Linked DNA regions of Homo sapiens: region 1 is linked to region 2. The links are contacts of gene promoters, found by promoter capture Hi-C in blood cells and fetal thymus (Javierre and others, 2016). All regions are on one chromosome and are shown on one strand. The core of a region is centred on a gene start or on the middle of the fragment in contact, and the rest is flanking DNA. Distances in the headings are between cores, read along the strand shown. Region 1 holds the start of TARBP2 (TARBP2 subunit of RISC loading complex). Region 2 holds the start of DDX23 (DEAD-box helicase 23).

The links. The method cuts DNA at HindIII sites, captures the fragments that hold promoters and counts their contacts. A CHiCAGO score of 5 or more calls a contact.
Region 1: a contact is called between the fragment with the promoter of TARBP2 here and the fragment with the promoter of DDX23 in region 2, in 2 of 17 cell types (monocytes and total CD8 T cells). The highest score is 6.9, in monocytes.

What each region holds. Positions count from the first base shown.
Region 1 is chr12:53,498,447-53,502,596 of GRCh38, forward strand. It overlaps TARBP2 (TARBP2 subunit of RISC loading complex), which reads left to right and starts at 2,837. Exons shown (of 9, transcript NM_134323.2): 1 at 2,837-3,015; 2 at 3,569-3,738. The coding sequence starts at 2,963. MAP3K12 (mitogen-activated protein kinase kinase kinase 12) reads right to left here and starts at 1,012. Exons shown (of 14, transcript NM_001193511.2): 1 at 981-1,012. RefSeq lists a silencer at 1,129-1,378 and an enhancer at 2,472-2,771. The HindIII fragment of the contact is 9,076 bases long and covers 2,451-4,150 here.
Region 2 is chr12:48,850,347-48,854,432 of GRCh38, forward strand. DDX23 (DEAD-box helicase 23) reads right to left here and starts at 1,817. Exons shown (of 17, transcript NM_004818.3): 1 at 1,738-1,817. LOC105369755 (a long non-coding RNA gene) reads left to right here and starts at 1,375. Exons shown (of 2, transcript XR_944925.3): 1 at 1,375-1,468; 2 at 1,704-2,203. RefSeq lists enhancers at 1,673-1,862, 2,742-2,951. The HindIII fragment of the contact is 5,632 bases long and covers 1-3,630 here.

The sequences.
Region 1 (4,150 bases), core at 1,587-4,086, 4.6 Mb after region 2:
CACCTACGCTCCTCTGAAAAAGGCAGCAGATGAGCATCTACAAGGTAGGACTCCTCCCTTAATTCTAAGGGACACCTCACTGTTTCCTCCCACTGTCTACAGAGCCTTGACTCTTCCCTCCTCTCAGTCAAGGCCTTGGTTACCAGCAAGTCTCAACTCTTGTTTATTTTTAAGCCAATGAGTTTGAGGAGTGTTTGTGGGAAAGGGAGGAGGTTTTTGGAGGGCCTGACTGGGGGAGATGGGTTAGGGGAGCCAGAGGAGATGGAGAGAAAGAGGAGGGAGAAACCCACACGTGAATGGGGGAGGGGAGGATGCAACAGCTGGATGGAGGTGAATGCCACAGCTGGAGGTGAATGCCACAGCTGGAGGGGATTAGGAGGATCACAGCTTGAAGGGGAGGGGGACCAACGCCTGGGCATGCAGGAACAGGTGCTCTCTGACTAATCTTCAGGTCCAGCCTGCTGTGTGTGTGTGTGTGTGTGTGTGTGTGTGTGTGTGTGTGTGTGTGTGTGTGTGTGTGTGTGTGTGTGTGTGTGTGTGTGTGTGTGTGTGTGTGTGGAGATGGTGGGTATATCAGTCCTTGCCCTTCCTTTCCTTCCCTAGAGGGGGCCAAAACTCTCCCTCCTCCTTCCCTCTCTCTCTTCCTGAGGATGAGTGGGAGGAGATGTTCTCTTGCCCTCTGTCCTTTAAGTCTGTCCCCCAATCATCCTCCACCCCACCCCAATACGGTCCTTTCCAGCTCTGGAGGCCCTTCGTCTCCAAGCTGGGCCGCGGCATCCCTCCGCTCCATTCCCTTCCTTCCCAGCCCCACAGGCGTCGGGTCCAGGTCCCCAGTTCCTCCATCCCCACAGCCTCAGCATCCCCACGCCATCACCCCGCACCAGGCCACATCTGCATCCCGACCCTCCCTCCACGCCCGGATCCCAGGACCCAGACCCATCCCTGCCCCCCACCCCCCCACAACTCGGCCAGGCTCTCACCTCGGGGGCTCCGCGGCCGCAGCACAAAAGGCGGCGCTGCTGCAGCTCCGCTCCGGATGCTGCTCCCGCCTCCTCCTCCTTCTCCTCCTCCTTCCCTCCTCCCCCCGCTGCCCTCCACCGGACCCGGGGCGCTGTCACAGGCGATGCTCGTGCGGTGTCCGGATGCACGGGTGTCAGCTTCAGCTTTCTGCCCCCACCCCCCGACCCCTAGCCCCGTCCCTGCTCGGCTTGAACTCCCGCTCCTTCCAGGGCCCCCGCCCCTGGCCCCCCGGGACGGACACGCCCTGAGCGGGGGATGCTGCGATGGAGCCGCCGGCCTCTTAAAGGAGCCCGCTGCTGCCATCCGGCGCGCTCCAGGCTCGTACCTGGCCCGCCTGGGCCCCGCGCCTCCCTGCTGGCGGTGTCCTATGGAGGTCCCACCTCAGGCCTCAGGCTGATTCCACAGGAACCCCCTATGACCCGTCTTATAGACTCCTTTCTACATCGGAGAGAGCAGCCCCTCAGTTGGGATCCCTAGCGCTCTGGCATTGCTCCCCCTATCATACCGATCTTGCCAGCTCTCCTTCCCTTGATTGTCACCACTCACTCCAATTTCACCCACTTGGAATTCACTCGGCTCTAGGCCCCATCCTCCTCCAGTGTTCCTGGATGACCCCTCATTATCATTTCAAGATTCCTCTGGACCTCCAACCCCGGCTCAGAGTAAGACATCTTTCTTGACCCCTTCTCAGAACACTCATTAGAACCTTTTTTTTTTTTAATGTGGTCTCTCCCTTTCTCTCTCCAAGGTCACAAGATTTCCCTCAGCCCAGTGGTTGTGCAACTTTGGGGGAGGAGGCAATGGGGCTCTAGGACTAAACAATGCGCGTCTGCTCAACACCCAGATCAGTTGATTAATCTTAGGCGGCCAAAATTCACTTTTGCTCTCTTCAGCTGAGAGACCCAAGACTCATGGAAGAGGGAACAAGACCACCAAGGTGCCTAGTCCTTCTAATCCTGTCGTCCCACATTACAGCCTGATTATCAGGCCCCAGAGGTTTCCTCGCCAGTTAAAGAGAGGTTCACTAGAGCGGTTCTAAAAAGGTTTCACAAAAGAAGCAACACCTGAAGGGAGGTGAAGGACGACCTAGGAAAAGGAAGCAAGTTCTGTGTCACGGAGGCCCAAGGGCAAGGGGCTTAGGCTGTGGGTTGAGGGGACTGTCTGAGACGGACTTAAACCTGCACCAGCTCCAGAGCCCTGCGGAAACAGAGATCGGTCCCCTCCGGCGTCTAGGTAAGGCCCACCCTCCCAGACCGCAAAGAGCCAGGATCCGACGGCAGCCTCTCCGGACCAATCACAACCTTCCTTCATCAAGGAGGCGGGGTCGGGGGGGGCTGACTTTTCCTTGTCTCCGCCCCTTTAGTCGAAGTAACCAATCTCAGTGCACCTAGGGGAAGTAATCGCAATGGGAGTAACCAATGACGCCATGAAGCTTCTCGTGCGTGCTTGACCCTGCCTCTCCAGCTGCGACACAGATGGCGCGCGGGCTCTTGGGTTCTGTAGTTTTCTCGCGATCCAAAAGGCTCCGTGCCCAAGTGAGTCCTTACCGCCTCCCTACCCAGCGGCTTCCCCTCCGCTAGTACGCATGTCCACAGCTTCACGGACCGGGAGAGAGGGGGCGCGGAAGGAAGGAGGCGGGACGGTATTACAAACAAAAAAATACGGCCTTCTCGAGAAGCGACGGCGGAGGGCCCGCTCCTCCCAGAAGGCGGTGCAGCCTGCCCGGGCGAGCCACGCACGCAGAGGGTTGTGGGGCGGATAGCTCCCCTCCAGATGGAGGCTCACGAAGTAGGGTGGGCGGGGGACTCCATATCCCAGCGTGCCCCGCGGCGGGCCCTACCGGCCGCGACTCCGGGCTTGGCCCCGGCCCTAGCTCGTCGGCTGTGTATTGGGGCGCGTGGAGGCTGCAGTCACGGTGGCGCCCGCGGGGACGGAGGAGGGAATGAGTGAAGAGGAGCAAGGCTCCGGCACTACCACGGGCTGCGGGCTGCCTAGGTGAGCCGTCTCGTACCGATTCCTTCAGGGCGAAAAGCGTGGGGCCGTGCGGAGGGAGTAGCGGCGCGGCCCCAGCATGCACCTGGCCTGAGGGTTGTTCCCGGCAAGCACTGGGGCAGTGGGCAGTGGTTCCCGGCGTGCACCGGGGCAGTGGCTGCTGCCTCCAGCTCTAAATAGTTTGGGGTTGGCCCGGTTCCCAGACTGCACTGGAACACTGGGCTTTATGCCCCCACATTCAGTGCATTTGGTGGGTACTGGGTTCCTGGCTTGCACTGTGTCAGGGGGTATGCACTTTCAACCTGCATTGGGGCACAGGATCGTGCCCACCTTAACTGAGGCAGGAGCAATGCATTCTTCCCCCCTTGCTTTGGGGTAGTGGGCCCTACTTTTCCAGCCTGCACCTCCACTTGGAACCCAGCCAATGGATGCTAGACTGTCTGGGGTTCCTTGGACCCTATGTCCCCCATAATGTGCCTAGGTCTGGTATGGAAGTGCTTGGCTAGGTGGGTGCAGAGAGGGGAGGTGTGATGTGGGTCTGTGCCCCTTCCCCCAGTATAGAGCAAATGCTGGCCGCCAACCCAGGCAAGACCCCGATCAGCCTTCTGCAGGAGTATGGGACCAGAATAGGGAAGACGCCTGTGTACGACCTTCTCAAAGCCGAGGGCCAAGCCCACCAGCCTAATTTCACCTTCCGGGTCACCGTTGGCGACACCAGCTGCACTGGTGAGGAAGGCTTGGGCAGCCTGGCTGGGGTGTGCATTTGCAGGTCCCCATGGCTTTGTTTCTTGGAGTCTCTCTCTTCACAGTCCTTTTCTCCAAGGCCAGTGAGGGAAGGAGAGATTTCAGGGGAAAAGCTACTGACTGGATTGGGAGAACAGGGCTGTAAGAAGGTGGGTAGGACGTGGGAGAGTTAGAGGAGCGAGCAGGACTCCCACAGTGATCTGGCAGATCCCCATCACCCTAGAGGAAAAGTAAGAGAAGATAACTGAAATCCCAGTGGAGTATTTGGGGGAGTGAGTGCCTGGCGTGCTGGGCTCTGTTCCCGGTGCTTAACCAAATTCCCGTTTAATTTTAAACCTCAGTCTAACCAATGATTGTAGGTGGTAGTATCCGCCCCCCCGACTCCTCCCCCCGC
Region 2 (4,086 bases), core at 567-3,066:
ACAAACTGGAGAAGACTAGGGAACGAACAGATTTAAGAGGAAATCAAACGTTTCATTTTGGCCAGGTTGAGTGTGAGAATATCTGTGGAGATTCCCAGAAGGCAAAGAGAAATGCAAATCTGAACTTAGGGGAGAGGGTCTGTAGACAAAAACTTGAGTCACCAATACACAGATAGCTTTTAAAGCCATGGGACACTAAATGATATTACCTAAGTAGGCAGCATAGTGAAAGAAAAAAAATAGAGAAGAAGCTCCAGAATTGAGCTCTGGAACACTTTAACAGGAGTTAGCCACGGGATGAACCAGAGAAAAAGACTGAAAAGAACTAGCAGCCAGTGAGAAAAGACAAAGAAAAGCATGGCAACGAAGAAGCCAAAAACATGTTTCAAGGAGGGAGGGGTCAACTGTGTCAAGTACCACCGAAGTGGAGAGGGAATAAGGGACAGGGAAGTAACCACTGAATTTGGAAAAATGGAGATTATTGGTGACCTTGACAAGAGCTGTTTCAGTTGCATTGCGGGAATGGAAGCCTGAGTGGAATGAGTTTGGAAGAGAATGAAAAATGAGAAGAAGACAGTAAATACAGGCAACTTTTATTACAGGTTCTATTATCACAAGGGCCAAATAACCAGGCTGACTCTGGCCATGCTTCCCAGCAGCCTTCCTCTCAAACCTCCAGATCTTCAGGTCCTCAGTTCTTGCAGGGCAGGGGCACATTCTTTTTTTTCACTCAATGACGTATTTAACAAGCATCTACTGTACGCAAGGCACAGTGCTAGGTGCTATGTGAGTTACAAAAATAAATTCTGTTCACAGGAAGTGTTTAGAACAACAGGGTTATGAGGTCGGACGCGGTGGCTCACGCATGTAATCCTAACACTTTAAGAGGCCGAGACAGGTGGATTGCCTGAGCTCAGGAGTTCGAGACCAGCCTGGGGAACACGGTGAAACCCCGTCTCTACTAAAAATACAAAAAATTAGCCGGGCGTGGCGGCGTGCGCCTGTAATCACAGCTACTCGGGAGGCTGAGACAGGAGAATCGCTTGAACCCGGGAGGCGGAGGTTGCAGAGAACCAAGATCGTGCCATTGCACTCCAGCCTAGGCGACAGAGCGAGACTCCGTCTCAAAAAAAAAAAGAAAAGAAAAGAAAAAAAAGAACAATAGGGGGTATGAGACACATACCAAGAAGAGTATCAAGGCTCAGATGTAGTAATACAGGTGTTCAAAGGCGTTTCCTTTCACTTGTAAAAGGTGATGTGGAAGGCTTGGAAGAGGAAGTGACGCTTGAGCTTTTAAGTATAAGTAGAATTTTAAGATATGTAATTAAGGACGCGGAAAAGAAGTCATTCCCGGCAAAAGAAATAATACGGCCGGCGCAGAGGCGGGAAAACATGGACTGACTGCGAGAGAAAAGCCAGAGTTCCAGTTTGGCTGCACCAAAGGCTACTTTAAGCATGAAAGAATAAGGTCAGACTGGGGGTATCAGAGGCGCTGTGCCCATAGGCAGAGTCCTGGGAGGAAAATATCGTGCAGGGACGTGGCCTGTGCCCGGAGGAGCCAACACTACCCCTGGGGCCCGCGCCCCTTCACTCCAGCCCGCCCGAGCTTCCCGGGTTCATGCCCCTTCTCTGAGGCGTTCTTTCCCGCCTCATCCAGGAGGCAGGGGCCACCGCCGTGCCCTGACTCTAGCCCTTTCTGTAAGCTCGTGGGAACCGCCTCCACCGCCCGGGACTCACCACCCTGAGTCTGAACCGCCCAACGCGGCCTCAACGTCGCGGAGCCGTCGCCATCTTTCCCGTTTCCTGGTCGCGGAGATGAACACCCCCCACCCCCCCGGCCGCGAGGCAAGCTGGGAAGGCGAGTTCCTGGAGCTGGGCGGCACAGGCCGACACTGAGGCCTGGAAACTACCAATCCCAGAATGCATGACTTGAGCGCCGGCCCCAGGCTGCGGGGTCTGCCGGGCAATGTGGTTTGCCAGACGTTAGCGTCCGGGAAGGAAGAGTTTTTCGCCAATAGGCTTTCGGCATTAGGTTCTCCCGCCGAGCACCCTTCTTGGAATCGGCTGGTCTTCCTAGAAACTACGGTCTATGACTGTCCTTGCCCGTGGCTTACAGTGGAGGAATTTAAGGGCTTCCTGAGATATCTGTAGTACGTAATTATAGCTAACAACCGCAGTAACAATAAATACCATTCGTGGAAAAGCGGTTTTTATAATAATTCTGTGAGAATGGGGCTAGCCCCATTTTACAGTTGGACAAACTAAAGATCAGGTTACCGGAGTAGGTTCACAAGGAGGGTGATGCAGTTCTCCATTGTGTGTGGAACTATCCCAGGCTTAGGAGGACGTTTTAGCAACCTTGGCCCCTGCAGCCGGGTGAATGCCATAACAACCCCCAGTTATTGTTACAGCTCCAAATGAGCCCACACAATGGGCTCTAAAGTCCTCCCGGAAGGATGGTATCTCCTGGGCTCTAGCACCTGTTTTCTCAACATTCCAGATGGAACCCTGGTTTCCTCAATTTCTTGCCCTTTGGAATGTGACCAATTGTTGAGCTATCTTGGTATTTTTGCTTCTTTCTTCCCCCAGATTCCCCTACTTCAGTCTTCCACTGAGTTTTGTTGTTGCTGTTGTTGTTGTTGTTGATGTTGTTGTTGTTGTTTTAACCTCAAATCGTAAGTTCACTTTGTGTTTCTCTTTGGTCTTATGGGTTCATAACTCTTTCCCTCAAAACAAAACAAAACATTGCAGTTGCGGAAACGGTTTAGATAACCAGAAGTATCTCGGACCTCCCTTCCCATTTTGCCAGCAGCAGGTTTGTTGCTTCAATTCCACATGGCTGTAGGTCTGCCTTTTCTCTCTGAATATGCCCAAGCTCTCAAGCAGAGCCTCAGGATAGACCCAAGTAATCCTAAAGCCCTGAGCATCACGTACAATGGCCCAAAGTAACCCTCGGAGACACACACTTCTCTTAGAACCTGCAGCCTTTCACCTCCCAGCTTCTACTCCAGAGAGAACGCAAGGGAAAGAAGAGAGCTCTGAGATCTGTTAGGTGTAATTCACCACAAAAGCACGAGAGGGCGCTCGACTCACAGATTCACAGATTAAACTAAGAATCAGACCAACCATGGTAGGCCAGAATCTTCAAAAACTGCAGCCACTTTTTATTGAGAATCTTCTAAGTGCTCAGCTCTGGGCTGGACACTTAACCTACCTTATTTGTTTTACTTAGTTCTCATAGCAGTATGAGATGAGTGCTATCTCCATTTTACTGGTAAGGAGATTGTGGCCCAGAAAGAGTAATTATGCCTTCAAAGGCCACATAGTTAAAAGAATGGGCCAGGTGAGGTGGCTCATGCTTGTATCTCAGCACTTTGGGAGGCCAAGACAGGAGGACTGCTTGAGCCCAGGAGGTCGAGGTCGCAGTGAGCCATGCTCGTGCCACTGCACTACAGCCTGGGTGACAGAGCAAAACCCTGACTGGAAAAAAAAAAAAAAGAAAGAAAGAAAAAAGAAAAGAAAAGAATGGAGCCAAAATTCAGGTTCATTTAACTTCAGAGTCCATTACCTTTCCCCATTTTCAGGCTGCCATCTCAACTCTCTTTAAATTGAGCTCCTGGAGGGTGATAAAGCTTGTCCCAGTTCATAGTGGCAGAGTTCCTCTAGTACTTGTGCGCACATCTCATGACACATGTAAGACATTGGGCTTCAAGGATACTTGTTATTTGTCTTGCCCCACTAGTTCTCTCACAAACATGAATCTTTGTTTTCTTATTTGTTTGTATTTTTATTTTATTTTATTTATTTATTTATTTTTGAGATGGAGTCTCGCTCTGTCGCCAAGCTGGAGTGCAGTGGTGCAATCTCGGCTCACTGCAATCTCCACCTCCCTGGTTCAAGCGATTCTCCTGCTTCAACCTCCCAAGTAGCTGGGATTACAGGCACATGCCACCACACCCAGCTAATTTTTGTATTTTCAGTAGGAACGGGGTTTCATCATGTTGGCCAGGATGGTCTCGATCTCCTGACCTCGTGATCCACCTGCCTCGGCCTCCCAAAGTGCTGGGATTACAGGCGTGAGACTCC